2 separate regions of the Homo sapiens genome follow, and region 1 is linked to region 2. Evidence: promoter capture Hi-C in human tissues and cell types (Jung and others, 2019). All regions are on one chromosome and are shown on one strand. The core of a region is centred on a gene start or on the middle of the fragment in contact, and the rest is flanking DNA. Distances in the headings are between cores, read along the strand shown. Region 1 has its middle 71 kb from the start of NARS2. Region 2 holds the start of TENM4 (teneurin transmembrane protein 4).

Region 1 (5,841 bases), core at 3,170-5,669, 790 kb before region 2:
CATATAGTTGGGTCATATATTTTTATCCTGATATCTCTTTTAGTTGATGTGTTTAAATCATTTGTATTTATTGTAATTATTGACATCTTTGTATTTAGGCCTTCTATTTTGTTATTTGCTTTTTCTTTGTTTTTCATTTTCTGTCTTCTTTTGGGTTCTTTGAACATTTTTTTCTTGTATTTAAATTATTGTGTTTTTACTATATGTCTTTTAGTCATTACTCGAGATTGGAATAGATGTTCTCAATTTTTTGCTCAGAAATAATAAGAAATATTCACTACTTCAAGTGGAATGTAGAAAGATTATTATGTAGTTCTTTTTACCCTCCCTCCTCTGTATTGAAACCCTTTGAGACTCTTTTACTTTCAGACTCTTTTACTTTCAACAATCAAACATATTTTAAAGTACTTAAGAGAAGAATAATCTGTCATGTTTACACAATTATCATTTTTTGTTGCTCTTTTCCAGCTCCTGATGTTCCAAGAGTTCTGTCCAGTTATCATTTCCTTTGTCTGAAGAACTTCCCTGAGCAGTTGTTGCAGAGCTGATTGCTGATGAAAAATTCTCTTAGTTTTACTTCATTTGTGAATTCTTACTTTTACCTTCATTCCTAAAGGTTATTTTCACTGGACTTAGAATTCTGAGTTGACATTTGTTTTCTCTGAGCACTTTAGAATGTTCTGTCTTCTGGCTTTCATGGGTTTTGATGCAAAGTTCACAGTCACTTGAATCATTGTTTCCGTATAAGTAATGTGTTATTTTTTTCCGGACATTCTCTTTTTTTTTCTTTTGCTTTTAATTTCAGTAGTTTGGTTATAATGTCTAGGAATGAATTTCGTTGAATTTGTCTTGCTTGGAGTTTCCGGGGCTTCCTGAATCTGTAAGTTTATGTTTTTCTCCAAATTCGGAAAGTTTTCAGTTTTTATTTCTGTAAGCATGTTTTCTGCACTGCACTGTCTCTTCTCTTTCTCTGACTCAAATGGCACAATTAGACATTTTCATGTGGTCCCATACATCCCTGAGGCTGTATTCATTGTTTCCAGTCTTTTTTCCTCTGTGTTGTTTAAATTGGCTATTTTAAAATGTCTGTCTTCAAGCTGATTCATTCTTTTTCTGTCATCTCCATTCTGCCATATTGAGCCCATCCAGTGAATGTTTAAACTTTTGGTCATTGTGTTTTTTTAGTTGTCAGATTTTCATTTGGTTTTTCTTTATATATTTTATTTCTTTTCTGAGACTTCATACCTTTCATTTGTTTCAAGTATGTTCCTTCTCACTTTTGGAGCACTTTTATATTGCTGCTTTAGTCTTTCATAGATAAGGTCAACATATGTGTCATCTCAGTATTGGCTAAGATTTTCCTCATAGGCCAAGTGTCTTGACTACTTCAAATGTTATAACACTGGATCTTAATTCTATGGAGAGTTTTTTTTTTTTTTTTTTTTTGCAAGCATTTGACTAGATTGGGTTCAGAACATGTTTTGACCAACCTTCTATAGATTGTGGTTTCAATGTCTGCTTGGTTTTCCAAGACACTGTCAGGCTATTCAAATCTGTTCTGCATGTGTGCCACCCAATGGGCAGTCTGGGACCAGAGCCACGGACTCTTTTCTGAGTTCAGTTCTCAAAGTTTATGGCATACTGCGTAGGATCAGATCTATGCATGCGATGCTCAGGGATGAGTCTGGGCATTCACAAACGACTTTACCACTGTCTTGAGCTTCTCCATCATCACCATCTCCCTTGGTATTTTTCATTGCCCTGAGGCCCACATTTTAGGTTTTCCAGCCAGAAATCTCAGGCTTTATTTGCCTCTCTCTGACACACACTTGCTGCAGCTACTGCACCTGCATCTAGGACCAATTGGTGAAAGGACAGAGAGAAAATGTAGTGGAGGTTCACCCATACTCTTGACACCCCCGCTCCTCCAATCAGAGAGAAGCTTCCCCCATGTCTATGGGCCTCCGCTGTTAATGCTGCCACTCTCAGGGGGCCCCTTCCCACTCCTCGAGGTGAAATAGAGGTTTCTTTTGGATGCGCACCTCTGGACTTTCAACTACCTGAGTCAAGGCGTGGGGATACCAGAGTGGAAAAGGGAGGTGAATTCTGCCAGTTCAGTGGCCCTCCAAATTTTGTTCTTCTCCAATCTGGCTGCCACTATTTGCTTTTCGGCTCCACATAGCTGCTCTATGCAGCCTGTGCAGGTTCTCTAACTGCTCCACTTACTTGGATATTTTACTTATTTAAAGAAGAGTTCCAGTTAATGAAGGAATAATAGACTAAGAAGTCAGCATTTTTTTATTTAACGTCACCAAATCTTATCACTAGAAGTAGAATAATCAAACACTATGTGTCCCCCATTAGATGTAATAGAAAGTACCTATGAGTTAGTCTTGCTTAAAACAATTGAACCTGAATTTAATTAAGCCTTTAGTGCTACATGCCAGCTTCTAGGAATTATGAGGCCTGAGAACAAGTAAAGTGACACCATGAAGAACTAGCCGCTAAATCCAGGTTGTGAGATATCCTGGAGTACAAATAACCTTTTTCTTTAATAAATAAATAGCATTAAAAAGAAGGGAAAACTATTATAGAATGGAGAGACTTCAGAAACACAACACATAAAGGGGGGATAAGTAATAGTACTCACGAGATTCTTAAGATTCAATTAGAAGAGCAATGTGAAGTGCTTTTCACAGTGCCTGGCAAATGGTCAATGGAAATGATTACTACCTTGTGCCACCTCTCAGAGTCTCAGTCTCCTTTTGTTTGTAACACACTAGGAGATGACAGCCTCCCCCTGTCTTAACAGTTAAGGAATTCAGCCACCTTAGTCCTCCATCCCTCTGCACCTGGTCAAGAAGGTGGCCTTGGCAGTATCTGCTGCAGTGTGCACAGTTGGCCGGTAGATGGCAGCTCAGGCCAGTTTATCTGGAGCCTTGGACCCAGGAAGAGCTAGTTCTGTTTTTGCTGCAAGAGGCTAGGTCCTGCTTGACCACCCATCAGACAGTATTCACCTTCTCTTCCTAGGTAGGAGGGATAAAGCTAAAGGAAGAGAATCGGTGGAGCTTTTTAGATATAATAAGGGCTAGCAGTTTGCTGAGAATTCCTTATCTGCTGGGCAGAGAGGTATTCTTCAGACCCCATTAGACCAGGGCTTGGGCACTGCCTGGCCAGCTGTCCCCAAACTCTGTTTCTCATCCCGTGAGTCCCAGTGCCTGCTGCCTCATCCTGAATCACTGGTGTGCAGGTACAACCTGGCTTAGCTTCTCTTCCCACCAGACTGAGGGAATTAACACCTACACACTCATCCACACCTGGTGTAAGATGTCCTTGAGGGAAAGTTTGCAGAATGAGTAAATAAGTGAATGCCTTATGGATCTTCAGTTATATATCTCTCTTCCTAAGTAGACCAGTAAATTCCAGGACAGGGTGTACACATTTTCTTTTTGTCTCAGCCTAGGAGGGAGTCTGGGTAGTGATGAATCGTGCAAGCCTGGAACTAGGTTGCTCAGCTTCAACTCCCAGTTCCATCTGCTTGCTACCTCACATGCCCTTGGCAAGTGCCTGCCTCTCCGCCTGAAAATTGGATACTAACAGTACCTCTCTTGTTGTACTGTGGTGAGTAATAAATGAGCAAATGCATTCAAAGTGCCTAGGAAACTGCTTGACACATTGTAGGCACCCAGTACATGTTAATTGCCATCTGAAGCTTTCCTTGCAGTGGGAAAGATTTAATGAACTTACAAAAATGCATTCAAGGAAGAAGTGTAAAAGGCCTAGTGTGGTTGTCTGATAGAGGGAATGGCTCTCAAGAAATAGCTCCTTCTCCTCCTCCTTGTTCTGCTTGTTATTGCTGTTAGCATCATTGATTGTTTAAAGATGCCTAAGTTAAATCTCTCCAAGCCCCATGAGTCGTGAGTGCTGTTTTGTCCACCTTTTTCCAACCTCAGGCACAGCAGCAGCCTCTGTAGTTGTCTGTATGGTGCTGGGGGCACCACATTCAGAACTGAAGGATCCTCTTCACATTGGCCCAGGGAGCAGAGGGAAGGTAGGGACTGCTAGAGCTAATTTTCCTGCTTTTCCTTTCTGGTGTGAGAGTGTGAGGTGCTTTTAGGGCATCATCTGAGAGTCATTGCTGAACCTTGGGACTGTTGTACAGGTCGAAAGGGTTCTCCTATGGAGGTCGTCTGAACTCTAGGAAGTACAGGAGCAGGACAAGGGATGAGCATGATCTTACCTGATCTCACCCATGTTTTTCTGCCTATCAATTTGGAGGAATGGGAAAGTGTGACAGGTGGCCACTAGGTGGCGTTATCAATGTGAAGAAATCAGGGGTGTGTTAATACATCACCTGTCCTGTACAGTAGAGTGGAAGAGCAGATAAACGCCTAGCTGGAGAAAATAAAGCTTCTCATATAAATGCTTCCCAGCCATCTGGCAAGATTTTGGGTGGAAATGGAGACTAACCCAGGAGAATGTGCATGGTGTGTGCATGAATATTTAAGAAAACCAGAGGAGGAGGAGGAAAAGTCAAGTCTACCTGATTGGCCTCTGCCCACCTGTTCAGCCCTAACTCTTAAGGCCCCTCCCCTGGCTCCCCCACGATATGCCAAGCCACCCGCAGGACACATTGGTACCTTAACTCTACGACACCCTCCACCTGGAATGCTCTTCTTCATTTCTTTCTTTGAACAGTTAAGGGGTTGCCTTCCTCTAGAAGCCTCTCCTGATTTATCCTCCCCTAGGCAGAACAGGTTTGTAGTTTCTTTGTGCCCCACAGTCTTTACCTGTGCTCCAAGTCTTTGCCACTTAATGGACTTAGATGTTTACCACTGAGTGGGGGTTTCCTGGCTTGGAGCTGGTGGGAAGGTCTCGGCTGGTTCTATCCAGTCCTGACCCAACATGTATGGAAGGGCTTTCCTGCCCACAGCTTCCCCACCCATTTGGGGGGCTCCAGGGCTCATCCTCTGCCTCAGGTTCTTGAGAATGTCCTAGAATGCTGAAAGTTTGTTCACACTGGGTAAGCAGTGTGGACAGGGCTGCCTCCATAACTTGCACAGCCCAGTACAAAGTGAAAACACAGGACCTTGTTCAAAAATTAAGTGTTTCAAGATGGCAACAGCAGAGCATTAAACCAAGAGTGGGCCCTAAGCGCAGGACCCTGTGTGACTACACAGGTCGCACGCCTTTGGAGCCAGCCCTAAATTTGGAGTTGAGCGAAGTCTCAGGTGAGCCTTGTGCCTGTGGATGGGTGACTTTCTGGGCACTGGAAAGGTGGTTGTCCATCTTCAGATGTCAATGTATGAAGCCTGTCACATCAGAAACTCCCTCACTCCTGAGCTTTAAGATGTAAGATCGATAGCCTAGAACTTGGAGTTAGGTAAATCTGGACTGATGCTGATTCTATCATTTAATAGCACAAACCATCTCTGGGTCTTATAAAGCTCATCTGCAAAATGGAAGGTAATAATACCTACCATGAATTTTGTTGTAGGTTCAAATGAGATTAAATGTAGGAAGTACTGGGTCTGCAGCCCACACCTATCGTGTCTACTGAGCCACACTGCTTGTCCTCAAAAGCATCTGATTAGAGAGAACAGGGCAGATGTTGGGCCTAACAGTTGGGTGGCACTTGCTCAGTGAGGTGGGTCACCATGTGATGAAGCCCCAGTGAGCTCCTCCTGAGCTCTGTGGTCTCAGGCAGCATCAGCTGAGTCAGGCAAGAACTGATGGGGGGAACTAGGGAGACCTGGAGCAGCTCTCAGATAACAACATCACCATGGGGAGATCCATTTATCATTTATCTAACAAACCTGTGTACAAGGTTCCTGTGCCAGG
Region 2 (5,853 bases), core at 3,354-5,853:
ACAATTTGCCTAAGGCCACAGAGCCATGATTCCAACCCAATAGTTAAGAGATTAAAGTCACATCCTATCACCTTACTCCCACAAAACCACAAAAGATTGAGGAGACTATACCAAATAGAATCAGATTCTATTGGAAGAGAGTCCGTGGGAACCCATTACTCTAACACCTAGCCTTCTACCTCATATTCCAGGTCACTCCACTCACTATAGAACTATCCTTTGATGGTTCTTGTTCAGACCAAGCACTAGTTCTGCCCGTTGGCATCCGCACTGGTCAAGGCCGGTCTATTAGGGTGGCTGATCCGCTTACCGCACCACTCTACCTCCACCCCCAAACAGAGGCCTTGATGAAAACAAGATGAGAGCAGAGGAAGAACCCAAGAACTCTTTCTAGAAAACCAAAGCTCTCCGTCCCTGATCCCTTCCCCCACCACAGAAGATGGCAATTCCACAAGCCTTCCGCACCCTGCCCTCCCCTCAGTTCAAGACACATGCTGGAAATAAAAGCTTCCCCGAATTAGCCCCCTAAAAGCACACAAACATCTATGCCCTAAGTCCTGGCTGAATATCTTGAGGACTTTCAGTTCCCCAAACATTTCCAAGGACCTACGGCACACAGGTGCCGCTAAAGGAGACACCCGTTCACTCCAGGCAATCAGCTCCAACAGGTCCAGTTCCACTAAGTGGAAGGGCTTCCCGTCAACACCCTCACCGGAGAAAACGGATTCCTCCTCAGCATTCCCTTATAACACCTGGAAAGGGGAAACCTGTTTTTTGTGCTATGTGTGACTTCGCTGCAAATCTCTCTGCTCCCCAACACATGCACACACACACACACAGGCGCGCAGAAAACTAGTTCCCACTGTCACCACCAGTGAAAACACCCCTCGTAACTTTGACGAGAAGGGCTCCCCCGCTGAAAGCCCAACTGCAGAGCGCCCGGAGCGCGCTGTGAGTCCGCAGGAACGCGGCCGGGCCGGGGACGGGAGAAAGGCGCGGCCGGGACCCTGCACTGTGCCGCGCGGCGCTTGCGGCTGGAACTTGGCCTGGAACGCGGTCTTCTCGGCTCCAGTTTCCCGCCCAGGCCCCGCCCACCCGGCCGCCCCGCTGGTTCGCACCGCTGCTCCGGCCACCGAGGAGCCCAAAGTTGGCGGCGTCCCGCGGACTCCGGCGGAGAGCGCGAGGGAGTCGCGGCCGACTCCTGTACCACGAAGACAACTGGAGGCCGGCGGGGGAGGCGGGCCACGAGGGGCTGGGGCGAGGGAGCTGGGATGCGCGGGCCCGGCTCGCCGGGAAACAGGTTGCCGCGGAGTCCCGTCCCCTCCCCCTCTGCGGTCCCCGCCGCGACCTGATTCCCGCCCTGCCCGGGGAGCTAACCCAGCCGCCTCCGGGGCGCCCTCCTTCTTCCTGGATTCCCACGGCTGGACCAGAGCCCCTCTGGCAGCCGGGTTAAAGGCTCCTTCAGCAAGGTCAAGGCGCGGCCGGCTGGCACCTGGGGATTTTTTTCCAGCCGAGCACTGGCTTTTCAATCGCATTGTTAAGGATCATGGCAGCGGCAGGAAATCCGAAGGGCCCCACAGGTCTGCGGGAGGGAGGATTTATTTTACAGCAAGGAACAGATTCAGACAGATCGGGGATTTCAGTGGGAGGGGACGAGAGGTTTCAGGACGCTGGAATGTGGCAAAAACAAAACACTCCCCACCCATGCACATCACCATCTCCTGACTGCGGGCTGGGGGGAAGGGAGTTCAGGGCCAATGTGTCCCAGACTTCAGCGTTCCCCACGGCTGTGTCAGGGCTGGGGTGGCTTATCCCCCTACAGACGAAAATCAAGATTTAAAAGCATACTCTTACTGTGGTTTCTCTATCAAAGCCCATCAACGTGATACACAGGCTGCGGCGCTGGAGGGAAGCGGCGAAACGGGGAGAATAAACGCAACAGAAGCAAACTGCTGTCTGCAGAGGCGAGAGGCGAAGGAACGGAAGCCATACCCGACCCCAGCCCCATCCCGTCCCCATCAGCGCCGGGCTAGCGCAGGAAACCAGGAATAGGTGTAGGTAAGGGTGGCAGCCCGGCAGAGCCAGCGTTCTACTCCCTCTAACCCCTCGCCAGCGTGGGCCTGGATGGCTGGGCTGCCTGGGCATCTCCAAGGGGGACCAGGCACCGCGGGCAGGTTTCTAAACACGTGAAGGGCACAGGGCTTGAAAGACAAGGAGGGGCGCCCAGGAAGGGCGGAAAAGAGGGGCTTTGGGGCTCCCCAGGACACCAAGTCAGTTTCTGAAAACGGCGTTCCCTGGAAGGCCTTCCAACACCTCCGAGGGAAGACTTGGAGCTCTGAAGACCCAATGAAACCTCAGTTCTGACTGACTCCTCCTCTGCGATCAATTCCGGATGCCCCCACTTAGTCCCTGCCTCGGTAACCGGTTCTTTGGGGACAGCAGCATCAGCACCCGACGCCCATCGCACAAGTGGGCGCCGTGGTGCGAGGCGTATCCTAGCTACCCAGGCCGGGGTGGGGGCGCCCCGGTACTTACACTCCCCAAGCAGGCAAACTTTCAGGCTTGTCTTTCGAGAACCGGGAGCTCGCATCACAGTTCCGGGTAATCACCGAGGCAGCTTATGTAATTGCCCGCGATGCCGCTCAGCAGATCTCTCTCCTTACTCGGCCTCAGAGCTCAGTACATGGGCACCCTCTTCCCCCCACCCCCCACCCCGGCGATTGGAATCCCGAGCTTGCCCCACCACCGCCTTCTACAAAGCAGCGGGGTGATCTCGTGTGCTACAAACACCAAGCCAGTATGCAGGTTCAGGCAAAACTCTGGCTGCCTCCCTGCGCCCCTTTCACTGCGTCGATGGTTTACAGATAACTGCATTTCTATAAACCCTCTCTCCACGGTTAGGGGGTGGGAGGGAGTTAGAGATCGGGTGGGGGCTTGGCGCGGTACTGTTGAGGGCTCTGCACCCAACTGAGCAGTAATACACTCATCCACATGGACGCGGGTGCATAAATCGCCTTAACATTTTGCCCTGAAAGCGGAGCCAATTTCCAAAGTTAAGGACCACGCAGCTGAATTTCCAGTACTTTCCAACCTCGCCTAGGCGGGGGCAGGCAGAGAAGGGGCGGGCAGCGGGCAGCTAACTCGCCCGACCCCCCCGCCAAGAAGGACTCACTAGGTGAACCCCCCGCCCTTCACCCAAGTAGTTGGTTGTGTATTCCTCGGTTGCGTGTGTGTGTCCACACACACACACACACACACACACACACGCCGCCCCACTACCTTCCAGTCTGCTCCTCCAATGTAACGACCGCATTTAAAAATGGCAATTAAAATGACTGAGGAGCTCGGTGATCACATTTCAACCCAGAGCACATTTCCCGAAGCTGGGGGTGAGAGTAGTCATACAGTCACACTCACACCCGGGAGCCCTCCAAGCGTCCATCTGGCGGCTGCAGCCTCAGTTGGCTCCTAGACGAACATCAATACCGCGGCCGGGCGCCCGGTGAGGAGAGGCGGGCGCCCCGCGGGTTGCAGAGGGCGAGGAGCTGGGGTCGCATCTCCAGGATCTGAGCTCCAACCACCGCCCGTGCGGGGCTGCTGCAGCCGGCACTTGCCCCGCAGGGCAGGCTGCAGCCGCTGAAGCCCGGCGCCGCCTCGCGGGCTCCTCCAGCGCCCGACGGGGGCCTGGGGCGAGCTAGTCTGCAGAGGGGCTGCAGGCGACCGGGCCGGGGCGGGGAACGGGATCCGGGAGAGGCAGACGAACCTGGGGCGCGCCGCCTCCCTCCCACCCGCTTCCCACCTCCCTGCCCTCCCCCAACCCTTGCTCCCAGGCTCCAGTCCGCGGCGGGCTCCGGGGGCTGCGGCGGCTCCAGGCTCCAGAACAGCTTGCCTCTTCGGCCACCCGCGCCCTAGCCTCCCTCCTCCTGGGCCAGGGGAGCAAGCAAACATCTCCCGGAGCCCTCGGCAGCCGCGTGAGCTACCCGAACCCTGCCCGGGCCAGCAGTGCAGAGGGCGATGGAGCTGGCGAGGCGTCGCCGCGGTCCCCAAGGCGCTTTTCCGTAGAGCGGATCACGCCGCCTTACCGTGGCTGCAGGCTGCTACCGCCGGGGAAGCGGCGAGGACGGCGGCAGGGAGGCAAGGCGCCGCGCCGGTGGCTCCTCTCTCTCTCGGCGGCGCGGCTCCTCTGCTCCGCGAGCCGTAGCGGGGCGCCCAGGAAGGAGCAGGTCCGGGCTCTGCGCTCAGCTCCAGCGAGACCAACAATAGCTCCCGCGGGGAGCGGAGCCCCAGCGAGCCTCCAGCCGCGCGCGCACGACCGGCTCCCGCTCCCGGCCGCTCCCGGCCGGCGTCCCTGCCAGCACTGCTGCCCCACATGAAACAGCTGCAATCCCGAGGCTTCTGGGGGGTTGGGGCGGGTGTGTGCGCGCGCGTGTGTGAGTGTGTGTGTGTGTGTGTGTGTTTAATAGCTTCCCTTCTCTTCTTCCCCTCCCTGCCTGCTCGCCTGCCTGCCTCCGTCCCCCACCCTCGCTCTCTTACACACAGAAAGAGAGGGCGAGCGAGAGAGAGACACACACACACACGCACACGCACACGCAGGTTACATGAATGGGAGGCGGTAGCCAATCCTACGAGGCCGGCGAGCCGCGCGGCGCACTGGCGCTGGGAGCAGGGCCGCACTCCGGCGCGGGGGGGCGCCACGCAGGTGATGGGCGCCTCTCCGGGGGCCACGCGCGGCCGCTCCCTCACCCCAGTCTCGGTTCCTCTGTCTCCTTCCCCCTTCCTCTCCGCCGCCTTCTCCATCTTCTCTCCTTTTACCTCCTTTGCTTTCTCGAGTTCTCCGAGCTCTCTCAGTTCGGTATCTTTCTGGTCTCTTTCTTCTTTTACCCTCCTTGCTTGCTTTCTCTTCCCCTTTCTGAAACTTTCTCTTTTCCTTTCTGGACTTTCTTGTACTTCCTCTCCTCTTGCCTTTTGTTCTTTCCTCCTCCTTTGGCTTTCTCTCCAGGCTCCCCGTAGCACGGTCTCGTCCCCTCTCCCTCCTCTTCGCCTTTCCCTGGGTCTCTCTGGCGCCCAGGGCCTCCCTTCTGCCTGCTCGCTGGATGTTACTCCACACCCCCCACCCCAACACTTTTCTAGGGACGGTCTCTTTCAAGTTGCTACTGCAGCACAATCAGAGTAATTAAGAGCTGAGATCTTGAGTTCCTTCTTCAGGCATGCAAGATGCCCAAAGAAAGGCCCTCCTTCCTCGGACAACTTCCCCAAAACCATGGTAACAGCTACTGAGTCGTGATAACAATCACTTAAAAAATAGCAGTGATTGCGGTCCAAGAGATTTCTGTCCCTCGAATGTTTGGATCGTGATGGCAAGCACATTTCCAAGAGAAGGGCATTTTTATGTGATGAGAGCGGTAGTTTGACTGAGTGGCAACTTGGAAGGGCTTTGGGGAAGAGACTGGAGGAATTCCCACTCCAGCCCTGCTGCCTGCTGGCTAAAGGACTTAGTGCGAGCCATTTCCCCTTACCCGGCTTCAGTTTTCTCATCTATAAAATGGATGATACCGACTTCACCAGTTTTGGTGAGGATTAAAAGAGAGAACAATGGAAAGAAAGCACTGGGTGTATATGAGATGCTTAATTTATGTTAGTTTCCTTCTTTAAGACAACTTCCTTCATGATCTTCTGCTACAGTGTGTCTCTCTGATCTAAAGTAGTCAATGAAGGAGGAAATGTGACAATGCTAATTTCACATAAATGTGAAAGGAGGGGTAGGCTATTTTGAAAACTCTTCTGTGTGGTGAGGAGACTGTCTAGCCAGTTGCCATATGCTGATTATAAAGGCATCACAGATTATAAACGTGG

The links. Contacts are between HindIII fragments. The study calls those that stand out against the background at their distance.
Region 1: a fragment that was not itself captured here is called in contact with the fragment with the promoter of TENM4 in region 2 in 1 of the 25 tissues and cell types used here (dorsolateral prefrontal cortex).

The regions. Positions count from the first base shown.
Region 1 is chr11:78,642,491-78,648,331 of GRCh38, forward strand. No RefSeq gene overlaps it. Among named protein-coding and RNA genes, the nearest start is that of NARS2, 71 kb to the left of the region's middle. The HindIII fragment of the contact is 3,185 bases long and covers 2,828-5,841 here.
Region 2 is chr11:79,436,427-79,442,279 of GRCh38, forward strand. It overlaps TENM4 (teneurin transmembrane protein 4), which reads right to left and starts at 4,604. Exons shown (of 34, transcript NM_001098816.3): 1 at 4,083-4,604. RefSeq lists silencers at 4,193-4,302, 4,563-4,732. The HindIII fragment of the contact is 13,466 bases long and covers 1-5,853 here.